Linked DNA regions of Homo sapiens: all the other regions are linked to region 3. The links are contacts of gene promoters, found by promoter capture Hi-C in blood cells and fetal thymus (Javierre and others, 2016). All regions are on one chromosome and are shown on one strand. The core of a region is centred on a gene start or on the middle of the fragment in contact, and the rest is flanking DNA. Distances in the headings are between cores, read along the strand shown.

The links. The method cuts DNA at HindIII sites, captures the fragments that hold promoters and counts their contacts. A CHiCAGO score of 5 or more calls a contact.
Region 1: a fragment that was not itself captured here is called in contact with the fragment with the promoter of ZNF749 in region 3 in 4 of 17 cell types (total CD8 T cells, non-activated CD4 T cells, naive CD4 T cells and 1 more); the score reaches 9.9 in total CD8 T cells.
Region 2: a contact is called between a fragment that was not itself captured here and the fragment with the promoter of ZNF749 in region 3, in 1 of 17 cell types (non-activated CD4 T cells). The highest score is 5.7, in non-activated CD4 T cells.
Region 4: a contact is called between the fragment with the promoter of ZNF256 here and the fragment with the promoter of ZNF749 in region 3, in 6 of 17 cell types (naive B cells, naive CD8 T cells, naive CD4 T cells and 3 more). The highest score is 8.0, in naive B cells.

What each region holds. Positions count from the first base shown.
Region 1 is chr19:58,127,810-58,130,700 of GRCh38, forward strand. ZNF329 (zinc finger protein 329) reads right to left here. Exons shown (of 4, transcript NM_024620.4): 4 at 1-1,702. The coding sequence starts at 1,694. The coding sequence ends at 69. Among named protein-coding and RNA genes, the nearest start is that of ZNF329, 22 kb to the right of the region's middle. The HindIII fragment of the contact is 846 bases long and covers 894-1,739 here.
Region 2 is chr19:58,105,990-58,108,745 of GRCh38, forward strand. It overlaps a transcript of ZSCAN18 not described here. Among named protein-coding and RNA genes, the nearest start is that of ZSCAN18, 9.1 kb to the left of the region's middle. The HindIII fragment of the contact is 4,764 bases long and covers 1-2,756 here.
Region 3 is chr19:57,433,803-57,436,775 of GRCh38, forward strand. ZNF749 (zinc finger protein 749) reads left to right here and starts at 1,523. Exons shown (of 3, transcript NM_001023561.4): 1 at 1,523-1,791. The coding sequence starts at 1,777. RefSeq lists enhancers at 1,108-1,407, 2,038-2,087. The HindIII fragment of the contact is 4,352 bases long and covers 1-2,973 here.
Region 4 is chr19:57,946,223-57,949,124 of GRCh38, forward strand. ZNF256 (zinc finger protein 256) reads right to left here and starts at 1,484. Exons shown (of 3, transcript NM_005773.3): 1 at 1,220-1,484. The coding sequence starts at 1,252. RefSeq lists enhancers at 893-972, 1,463-1,562, 1,633-1,722. The HindIII fragment of the contact is 12,388 bases long and covers 1-2,902 here.

The sequences.
Region 1 (2,891 bases), core at 67-2,566, 690 kb after region 3:
AGATCTAAGACACGCCTCCTAAACACAGGAGTGAGAGTGAACTGGAAGACTCATGTGGCCCCCAACCATTATGTTTCCATGGGTTGCTCTCCCAGGTGTGCTCTTTGATGTCGAACAAGGGATGAGCTCTTTTGGAACATTTTTCCACACTGAGGACACCGGCTGGGACCCTCCCTGCTATGGAGTCTCTGATGTACTGCCAGGTGAGAGTTCTGCTTGAAGGACTTCCCACATTCTGGACACTGATATGGGGTCTCCTTAGTGTGAATTCTCTGGTGCTTGGTCAGACAGGAGCTGTCCCTGAAGGCTTTGCCACACTGATTACACTCATAGGGCTTCTCACCAGTATGAGTCCTCTGGTGCCTAATGAGGCCAGCGATATTCCTGAAAAGTTTCTGACACTGGTTGCAGCCATAGGGCTTCTCGCCAGTATGAATCCTCTGATGCCTGATGAGGTACGCACTCTCGATGAAAGTCTTGCCACATTCTTTACATTCATAGGGTTTCTCCCCAGAATGGATCTTTTGATGCACAATGAGGTGAGAGTTTCTGTTGAAGGATTTCCCGCACTCTGCACACTCAAAGGGCTTTTCTCCAGTGTGAGTCCTCTCATGCTGGGTGAGGTACGAGCCGTCCCGGAAAGCCTTTCCACATTTGCTACACTCATAGGGCTTCTCACCGGTGTGGATTCTGAGATGCACTGTAAGGTGGGAGATGTCAGTGAAGGGTTTCCCACATTCGTTACATCTATATGGTTTTTCCCCTGTATGAGTTCTTTGGTGCAAAATTAAGGATGAATTTCGGTTGAAGGTTTTTCCACACTCTAGGCATTCATAAGGTTTCTCGCCTGTGTGAATTCTCTGGTGCTGTGTCAGAGCTGAGCCATCACTGAAAGCTTTCCCACATTTACTGCATTCATAGGGCTTCTCTCCTGTGTGGATTCTTTGATGCACAATCAGGTTGTAGTTCTTGGAGAAGGACTTTCCACACTCATTACAAGTATAAGGCTTCTCTCCGGTGTGAGTTCGGTGATGCAAAACAAGAGAAGAGTTCCGTTTGAAGCATTTGCCACATTCAGTACATCTATATTGTTTCTCTCCAGGGAGATTTCTCTGGTTTTCATTAAGCGATGAGCTCAGAGTAAAGATGTTCTCAAAATTCTTACCTTCATACGATTTCTTGCCTCTTTTCATTATTTTCTGATGACCAAGAGAGGTAAAATGATTAAAAGACTTAACACTTTCAGGGTATTTGTAGGGCTTCTCTCTCACTGGATTTCTTCCATGAATAACTTCCATGGAATGGTTGAAGCCTTTTCCACAGGCATCACTGTCACCAGTTCTCTTATCTGCATAACTTTTAGGATAGCTGGGTAAGGCGGGGTCACAATCCAGACCACTAACATTTGAGTCAGGTGCATGGAAACCATTTGTTGCCAGAACTCTCTGAGACGGTGGAAGGTCTGAGCTTGCAATCAAATGCTCCCCAAAACCAGGATATTCACAAATTGCTTCCTGAGTCCCTGGTTTCTCCAGAGTTAAAGCTGATTGCCTCAAGTGTCCCTCCTGGTTCTCACAGTCCCAACCATCACCTAAACTGGACAAGCAGGGAACTTCCCTTGTGAATCTTTCCACTTCTACATCACAGGGTACTTCTCTCTCAGGAAAATTCCGAGTCGTCATTTTCAATCTCATATCCCAAACTGCAAAAAGAAGAAAAATGCAGACTTAGGTATATGAAGCTTTATCTGTAAGAGAAACAGACAATGATGATGGGCTAGGTGTAAAGATGTGTATTTTTTTACTTGTTTTCTCTTTTAAATTCAAATTTATACAAGGAAGAGGTAAAATCGTAGCCAAGGAATGGAACCAAGAACAGATTCAAAAAGAGCCATGTAGCATTTTCATCTTCCTAGAGAGCAGGCAGGAGGAATGGACCTCGGGATAAATCATCACCAAAAGGATTAGTTTGAGATGTGAGAGACCAGAGGCCAAGCATCCCTGCTCCCCCTAGAATTCCATCCCAGCCACTGCATTCTTGTCCCTGTCACACACTGCCCATCAGTACACATTTCCAAAGCTCTGACTTCACAATGAGCTTACAACAGCACTGAAGGAACAGTTCTCACCCCAGCTCTGTCATCAAAGTTCTGCATTCATGGATAGGACAAAGCACAGGCTTGGTGACCTAAAAGTTCTGGGTCTAAGTCTTAGAACTGTCAATGACCTGGCGGGGCACAGTGGTTCACTCCTGTAATCCCAGCACTTTGGGAAGTGGAGGCAGGTGGATCATTTGAAGTCAGGAGTTCAAGACCAGCCTGACCAACATGGTGAAACACCGTCTCTACTAAAAATACAAAAAAAATCAGCCAGGCGTGGTGGCACATGCCTGTAGTCCCAGCTACTCTGGAGGCTGAGGCAGGAGAATCACTTCAACCTGGTAGGCAGAGGTTGCAGTGAGCTGAGATCACACCACTGCACTCCAGCCTACGCGGCAGAGTGAGACTCCATCTCAAAAAACAAAACAAAACAAAAACTGTCAAAGACTGCCCTGCATGGTTGTTATAAAAACTGGATCATGTCGGCCAGGCGCGGTGGTCACGCCTGTAATCCCAGCACTTTGGGAGGCCGAGGTGGGCAGATCACAAGGTCAGGAGATTGAGACCATCCTGGCTAACGTGGTGAAACCCCGTCTCTACTAAAAAAATACAAACAATTAGCCAGGCGTGGTGGCGGGCGCCTGTAGTCCCAGCTACTCGGGAGGCTGAGGCAGGAGAATGGCGCGAACCCGGGAGGCGGAGCTTGCAGTGAGCCAAGATCGTGCCACTGCACTCCAGCCTGGGCCACAGAGCAAGACTCCGTCTCAAAAAAAAAAAAAAAAAAAAACTGGAT
Region 2 (2,756 bases), core at 133-2,632, 670 kb after region 3:
AAAAAGGTATGTATTTTGTAAGGCTATAGCTGCCATAGATAGTAATGATTCCTTGGATGGATCCAGGGAAAGTAAATTAAAAACCTTCTGGAAATGATTCACTATGCTAGATGCCATTAAGAGCATTCTAGGCCAGGCACAATGGCTCACACCTGTAATACTAGCACTTTGTCAGGATGAGGCAAGAGGATCACTTCGGCACAGGAGTTCAAGACCAGCTTGAGCAATATGGTGAGATGCCGTCTCTACAAAACATAAAAAAAATTAGCCAGGCGTGGTGGTGCATGCTGGTAGTTCCAGCTATGTAGGAGGCTAAGGTGAGAGGACAACTTGAGCCTAGAGGTCGAGGCTGCAGCGAGCCATGGTTGCAGCACTGCACTCCAACCTGGGCAACAGAATGAGACCATGTCTCAAAAGAAAAAAAGACATCTGGCTGGGCGCGGTGGCTCACGCCTGTAATCCCAGCACTTTGGGAGGCCGAGGCGGGCGGATCACGAGGTCAGGAGATCGAGACCATCCCGGCTAAAACGGTGAAACCCCGTCTCTACTAAAAATACAAAAAAAATTAGCCGGGCGTAGTGGCGGGCGCCTGTAGTCCCAGCTACTTGGGAGGCTGAGGCAGGAGAATGGCGTGAACCCGGGAGGCGGAGCTTGCAGTGAGCCGAGATCCCGCCACTGCACTCCAGCCTGGGCGACAGAGCGAGACTCCGTCTCAAAAAAAAAAAAAAAAAAAAAAAAAGAAAGAAAGAAAAAAAGACATCTGTTTTTTTTGTTTTTTTGTTTTTTTTTGAAATGGAGCCTCCTTCTGTTTCCCAGGCTGCAGTGCAGTGGCTCGATCTCTGCTCACTGCAACCTCTGCCTCCCAGCTTCAGGCAATTCTCCTGCCTCAGTCTCCTGAGTAGCTGGGATTACAGGTGTGCACCATCACGCCTGGCTAATTTTTTTTTGTATTTTTAGTAGAGATGAGGTTTCAGCATGTTGGTCAGGCTTGTCTCGAAATCCTGACCTCGTGATCTGCCCACCTTGGCCTCCCAAAGTGCTGGGATTACAGGCGTGAGCCACCGTGCCTGGCCAAGACATCTGTTCTTGAATAATGAGACTGGAAAGTCAAAATTACTCCTGATCTATGATGGGCTGCAGAATACATGTTGTGTTAGCAGGTGTGAGAACAACATTCATCTCCCTGTACATCTTCATCACAGCTCTTGTCAACAAGCAGCCATATTTTGAAAGGAATCTTTATTCTGAGGAAGTCTCAACAGTGGGTTTAAAATATTCAGCACAGGCCGGGCATGGTGGCTCATGCCTGTAATCTCATCACTTTTGGGAGGCCAAGGTGGGCAGATCACTTCAGGTCAGGAGTTCAAGACCAGCCTGACCAACATGGTGAAACCCTATCTCTACTAAAAAAAATACAAAACAATTAGTGTGATGGTGGGTACCTGTAATCCCAGCTACTTGCTCAGGAGTTTGAGGAAGGAGAATCGCTTGAACCCAAGAGGCAGAGGCTGCAGGGAGCTGAGATCACACTACTGCACTGCAGCCTGGGTGACAAGAGTGAAACTCTGTCTCAAAAATAAAATAAAATATTGAGTGCACCATGCGGTAAACACATGTGCTGTCATCCAGGATTTTTTCTTCCATTTATAGATGGAAAAACATATTTGTTACTTTCAAACAACATAAACTCTTCAACATGAAGTCTCTGACAAAGAGGAGGCAAAGAAAATCAGATCAGTCACTGCCACAGATGCTCACTGAATCCCCATAGGTCTCAGTCCAATGTGTCAACTCTGGTTTCTAGCGAGAGCACAGATACTTGGGAAAACTTTCCCACACTAGACACACTGGCACAAGGTCGCCTGAGCATGTACCTTCTTGTGCTTGGTCAGACAGGAGCTGTCCCTGAAGGCTTTGCCACACCGATTACACTCGTAGGGCTTCTCACCAGTATGAGTCCTCTGGTGCCAGATGAGGCCCGCGATGTTCCTGAAAAGTTTGACACTGGTTACAGCCACAGACCTTCTCACCAGTATGAATCCTCTTGTGCCTGATGAGGTACATAATCTCAGTGAAAGATTTTTTCACATTGTTTAACTCATGAGATTTCTTTCCAGAATGATTTTTTTGATGCAAAAGAGCTGACTGTTGTGGTTGGAGAATTTTTCACACTCCATACACATATAGGGTCTCTTTCCAATGTGAATTCTCCCATGTTTAATAAGTTATGTGTGATCAATGAAGGCCTTTCTACACCCAGTACATACATAGGGCTCCCCTCACATGTGAATTCTCAGATGGACAATAAGGTTGGAGACATCAGAAAAGGATTTTTCACATTCATTACATTCGAATAGTTTTTCCACAGTATGACTTCTGAAATGCAAAACAAGGGAAGAGTGGCAGCTGAAGGTCTTCCCATACCAATTCCTTTCACAGGGCTTCTTTCCTATGTGGGTTTTCTCATGCTTGGTAAAGGTGGAGCCAGCACTGAAGGCTTTCCCACTTCTTGCATTTATAGGATTTCTCTCCTGTGTGGATTTTTTGATGTACAATCAGGTTGTAATTCTTAGAGAGGGATTTTCCACAGTCATTACAGGTATAAGGGCTCTCTCCAGTATGAGTCCTCTGGTGACTGATGAAATGAGATTTCGGTCTAACGGACAGTCCACATTCACTGTCATTGTATTCATTTCCAGAGATACTTCCATTGTGTTCATAAGGACATGTGTCCCTATCAAACACCTCCTCGTGTC
Region 3 (2,973 bases), core at 273-2,772:
TGGTTTTCAGGTAGTATTGCCACCACCTGATGGCAATACTATTGCTACTCAATTTTTCTCTCACTGCTACTCAATTGCAGTGAGAGAAAAATAGCTCTAAATGCCGACTTTTTGTAGTGCATTGTAAAAAGCTGAATAAAGCCAGGGACGGTGTCCTGTACCTACAGTCCCAGCTGCTCTAGAGGCTGAGGTGGGAAGATAGCTTTAGCTCAGGAGCTGAGGCCTTATCATAAGGCCTTATAAGACTACCTGGAGGCTTCATCTGCATGATATAACCTTGGTCTTCACAACCCCTTGTCTTTTTTTGTTTTTGAGACGGAGTTTCGCTCTTGTTGCACGGGCTGGAGTACAATGGCGAGATCTCGGCTCACCGTAACCTCCGCCTCCCGGGTTCAAGCGATTCTCCTGCCTCAGCCTCCCGAGTAGCTGGCATTACAGGCATGTGCCACCATGCCCGTCTAATTTTGTATTTTTAGTAGAGATGGGGTTTCTACATGTTGGTCAGGCTGGTCTCGAACTCCCAACCTCAGGTGATCCGCCCACCTCGGCCTCCCAAAGTGCTGGGATTACAGGCGTGAGATACCACGCCCGGCCCACAACCCCTTAACCCAGACAACCATTTCTACTGATTCCAGGTCTTTAGATACAAACTCTTTCAACCAATTGCCAATCGGAAAATCTTTGAACCCACCTGACCTGGAAGCCCCGCCCCTCCCTTCCAGTTGCGCCTTTCCAGAGGAATCCAATGTACATTTTACATGTATTGATTGATGTCTTACGTCTTCCTAAATTGTTAAAACCAAGCTGTAGATGGGCCACCCTGGGCATATGTTCTTAGGATATCTTGGAGCCGTGTCATGGGCCATTAGTCACTCATATTTGTCTCAGAATAAATCTCTTCAACTATTTCACAAAGTTCCACCCTTTTCGTCGACAGAAAGATATTCCTCCTTCAACTCTCCATCACATCCTGTGTGGGTCTTTTCTTTCTTGTCCCAACAGAAGCACACTAACGATCAAAAAAAAGTCTCCAGAGCCTCAGTATGTGTGTACTTGACAAGCACAAAAGAGCTGACCGCTATGAATGGAGGACCAGTTCATTATGGTCAGCCATGTCGCTTCTGATGTTCTTCCTTTCGGGACTTGCTGTGCTTCAGAGAATCTGAAACGACAGGTCTCTGAAATATTTCTCAGACTTGTCCTAGACTGCTCTCCGGGAAAATCTGGTTACTTGCAGTTTAGGAGTCAGCAAAGCCCCTCCACGTCCTTAAGAGCCCCGGAACTGCATTTCTTAACGCTCCTCCAGGAGCCTCCAGCTTTTTTCCGTAAGGTCCGCGCGCCCAGCATTGTGAGGCGAGGCAGGCAGCAGCGTGGGAACTACATTACCCAGAAGACACTGCGGGCGACACAGGCAGCAACGTGAGAACTACATTACCCAGAAGACACTGCGGGGGCAGGGCAGCGAGTGTAGCCATTGGTCTAGCAGAGAGACGACTAATGAGGTCTCAATTGTGTGGGCGGGACTTCTGGCGGCGCCCTCATGGTTGCGTTAGCATGGCTACCTAGGGATCTGTTCACTGATTTAGAGGGTCCCAGAGCTCTGGGTCGGGACTGAGGTGAAAGAGCGGAAAAACGCGAGAAGCGGTGTTCCTTCTACACAGAGGCTAGAGTGCGGATCGGCTGAGTCGGCTGCAGGCGCCCCTGCCTCCGTCAGCGTCCAGGTGACCGCCGTTCCCGCCCCGCTCTTCCCTGGGTGGACTGGAGGAGGCCGCGCCGATGAACCTGACCGAGGTGCGTGCAGCGTCCCAGGCCGCCCCGCCCAACCCCTCCTCCCAGTGCTGAAGTCCCAAGGAGCCGCCCTGCAGGTTAGGCCCTTGTGTCTCTAAGAGAGGGGCGTTCTTGTGTGGGGTGCCCGGGACTGGGACTGCGGTGCGATGAGGCGGGGGAGCTCCCGTCGGAGACCGACACGTCTCTGGGGCTTGGAGGCACTGCAGAACGGGCGGCACTGGGGAGCCCGAGCGTCTTTGTCTCCAAGGAGCAGAGGTTGAGGCGGAGTCTCCCCTGGAAGGGCAGTGGAGCCGCAGAGAGCCATAGAGGGCTGTGCAGGGAGGACGAATGGGAGGGTCACGCCCAGAGTTAGAAGTTTAAAGTTGGGGAAAACAGGATGTTGAACGGGGGCAGGGGGACCGCTGAGGAGACCCCTTGAGTTATGGTAGGGCTGGGCCAGAGGGGTTGCAGTAGAGGGGAGATGTGATGAGACTCTGGATGGATCTCAGAGATAGGGTCAACAGGATTTCCTGCTGCATCAAACATAGCTGTGAGGGAAAGTCGGTAGTGAATGGTGTCTTCCATAGGTTTTGTTTTGGCCTGAAAAATCTGAAAGAATGGAATTAGAGATATCAGCTTAAGGAGCGGGTTTCAGACAGAAGATCCTGGGTTGGATTTTGGGCGACATCACATGGGTAGGTGGACGTAATTTCCAAAGGTGAGGGAAGGTAGCTGGCCTGGAGCTTTAAATGAGTTAGAAGTTGTGCACTTGAGAAGTTGGCCTGTGGATCAGATTGAGAAGGAAGAATCCTACATCGTTTTTTCATATGGGCTGAGGTAGGGGAGGGCTCAGATTTGGAGGAAAGACCATGGTAGGGAGGGCATCTCTGATACTCCCTGCAGAAGGGAGCAGATATGGGCTAAGAGTCTGGTCTGTTTCTGTTGAAAAAGAGGCCTGGATGGATAAGGAGTTGCCCTGGAATACAGAGACTGAGGCATGAGATAATTGTAGTCACTCCACCCTTCTAACTCAGCTGGCCCTGAGGGCCACTCTTTAGGGAACAAGATAAGGCCATGCAGCAACTGGGTCCAAAACTGGGCAGGGCTTTCTCACATCCTCCACCACAGTTAAGGGCCTCCAGCAAGCTCCCTTTACTGCATTATATGGCAGGCTGACCTGTTTGCTGAACGGACCAGTAACTGATT
Region 4 (2,902 bases), core at 234-2,733, 510 kb after region 3:
GTGCGCACAACAGCCACATCTTGAATATCTGCACCCTGAACCACTCCCTAGATTTCAAGACCGGCACGTTCATCTGCCCACTTAACGCCTCCATTTAGTAGGCTCTGAAAGATCTGACTCTTAGCATGGCATAAACAAACCTGATATCCCTAGTGAATATTACTCCTATTGCCAATTTGTTCATCTTAGTTGATGAAACTTCTTTCCCTACAGCTGCTAATACCAAAAACCCTGGAGTCTTCTCTGAACCCTCTGTTTCACTCCCTCACCACCTACATTATGTAATTTAGTTGTCCCTTTTGAAACCACACATCCGGAATCTAACCACATCTCCTAAATCACGATCCTGGGCCAGTAACCCTCACTTGGACTAGTCTACCCTGATTTTCCTTCCTCCTCCCTCAACCCCCCAGTTTGTGCCCCACTGTGCACACAGATGAAGCCTGTGAAGACCTTGGTAAATTACCTCTTTTTTCTGATTCAAACTTGCTATTACCTCCTGAAAACACACTCAACTTCTCAGGCAGCCACTGCAGTCCTGACGCCTATCCTCCTGTTCTTTGCTTCCCACCAGAAAGCAAGGAGACTTGTGGCTTCATAAATGCACCCAGCTCCGTACTGCACCTAAGCATTTGCACATCTTGTACCTTTCTGGAAAAACTTTCCACACCCGTTCACATGGCTGCCAGAAATTGGAACAACTCTATATACCGGCTAACATGGACATAGGACCCTGGGCTTGGGGTTCACCCAAGGTCTTCAGAACTAAGGGCTGGGGGAATGGCACTCCACAACCCAGAGAACCTGTGGGTGGGAGTTAGGGCTAGTGAGAGACTGGGAAACCCTCCCCTTCCTGGCGTAGATTTCATAACCCTTTACAGCCAAGGGAAACGTAGAAAGAGCCAGGCCTCAGAGAAGAGCATCTATGGCGGTATTAGATGGGCTCAAGCCACCCCGTAGCCCCATGCCTGGCCTTGGAGCCGGGTGCCCTCGCAATGGCTGTGTCACCTCTGTGCCCCAGGGCTCAGTGGCGCCTCTCATCAGGGGCTCCTTGCCAGTCGCGCCCTCCCTTCCCTAGCACACCAGGTGTTGGAAACGGGAGCCCCTCCGGCGAGCCCCCGTGTCCTGTCCTGGGCAGCAGGGCCGCGAGCAAGCGCCCTCGGGGGTGCTAGGACTAGCGTGGGGAGGGCGGGGAAGGCCCAGAGGACGCGGCACATACCTGGGCCGGGGCCGTCAGCTCGGCCGCCGCCATCTGACTCTGTGAGCGGAGCGGGGCCAGAGAGGATGTCCTTATTCCGGGCCGGGCCTGGGTACCCTGGGCGCCGCCGAGCCTCAGCCACGCCTCTGTGCAGCGGGGAAGACTCCTCTCGCGCCTTCTCAGTCAGTCACGGATGATGCTGACCCAGCGCTCCGGGGCTTTCTACCAAGTAATCAGTCCAGACAAATGCCAAAACGACCGCCACAAGGAGGACAACGGAAGTCCCGCCGCGACCGCGCGTGCGCTTACGGAAACACCACCTTTCGGAGGCCTCATTGGCTGAAGGTCGCCGTCGCCCAACGCAGGCCATTCTGGGTAATGTTCCCACAGGCGCACGGCGGGAGAGTGAGGGTCGCCTCCACCTCCTTCCGGAAGTAAAGGCCAAACCCCTGTAGGGGGCGCTGGGAAATGGACACTCCAGGTTGGGGCGGAGGCGAGGCTTCGTTCTTTCTTAAAGGAGACGTACCCAGGTTTCTACCGATTGCTGTCTGCCAGTGTTTGTTTGGAGACGTGTCATTTCATGTGTTCCCAGAGGCACATATCCAGATGCACATATTATTACATACAGTCAGTCAGTCACAAAATATATCCACTGGTTGAGAAAGCAAATAAATATGACTATGTTGCGGCCGGGCGCGGTGGCTCACGCCTGTAATTCCAGCACTTTGGGAGGTCGAGGCGGGCGGATCACGAGGTCAGGAGATCGAGACCATCCTGGCTAACTCAGCGAAACCCCGTCTCTAAAATACAAAAAATACCACAAAAAAAAAAAAAAAAAGAAAAATTAGCTGGGTGTGGTGGCGGGCGCCTGTAGTCCCCAGCTACTCCGGAGGCTGAGGCAGGAAAATAGCTTGAACCCGGGAGGCAGAGCTTGCAGTGAGCCGAGATCGCGCCACTGCACTCCAGCCTGGGGGAAAGAGCGAGCCACTGTCTCAAAAAAAAAAAAAAAAAAAAAAAAAAAAAAAGACTATGTTGCAATTCAAACGCATGCACTCAAGCACTGGAGTCAGTTTTCTCAGTCTCTGTATGTTTGATTAGGGACAAGAAAAAAAACACTCCACACAGGTTCATGACAAAGAGGATGAAGGTGGGATGCGGAGGCACCCTGCAGCAGCAGGACATAAGTAGATCCCTGTCTCTGGGTCCCTCTCGTGCCTGTGTAGTCAAACATTGTGTCCAATTCACTAAGCAACACTTGCATGAATCTAATCTCACTTTCTCCATGCCTTTATATTCACTTCTTTTTAATAATTTGACATCAAGCTCAGAAAGAGAACAACAAAAGGAATGGTATTTTGAAAAGGCATGATGGCTAGCTAGAGCATTAACAGGTGGAACAAAGGGTGCTCTGAATCCCAAATGTAGGGTGTATCTTAAATTCAAGATCTCTTCTCAACGCTGAAATGATTATCTTTGCCCCCATTAGTTACGCTCTTGTTGCCCAGGCTGGAGTGCAATGGTGCGATCTCGGCTCACCACAACCTCTGTCTCCCGGGTTCAAGCGATTCTCCTGCCTCAGCTTCCCAAGTAGCTGGAATTACAGGCGCCCGCCACCGTACCCGGCTAATCTTTTTTTTTTTTTTTTTTTTTTGTATTTGTATTTTTAGTAGAGACGGAGTTTCGCCATATTGGCCAGGCTGGTCT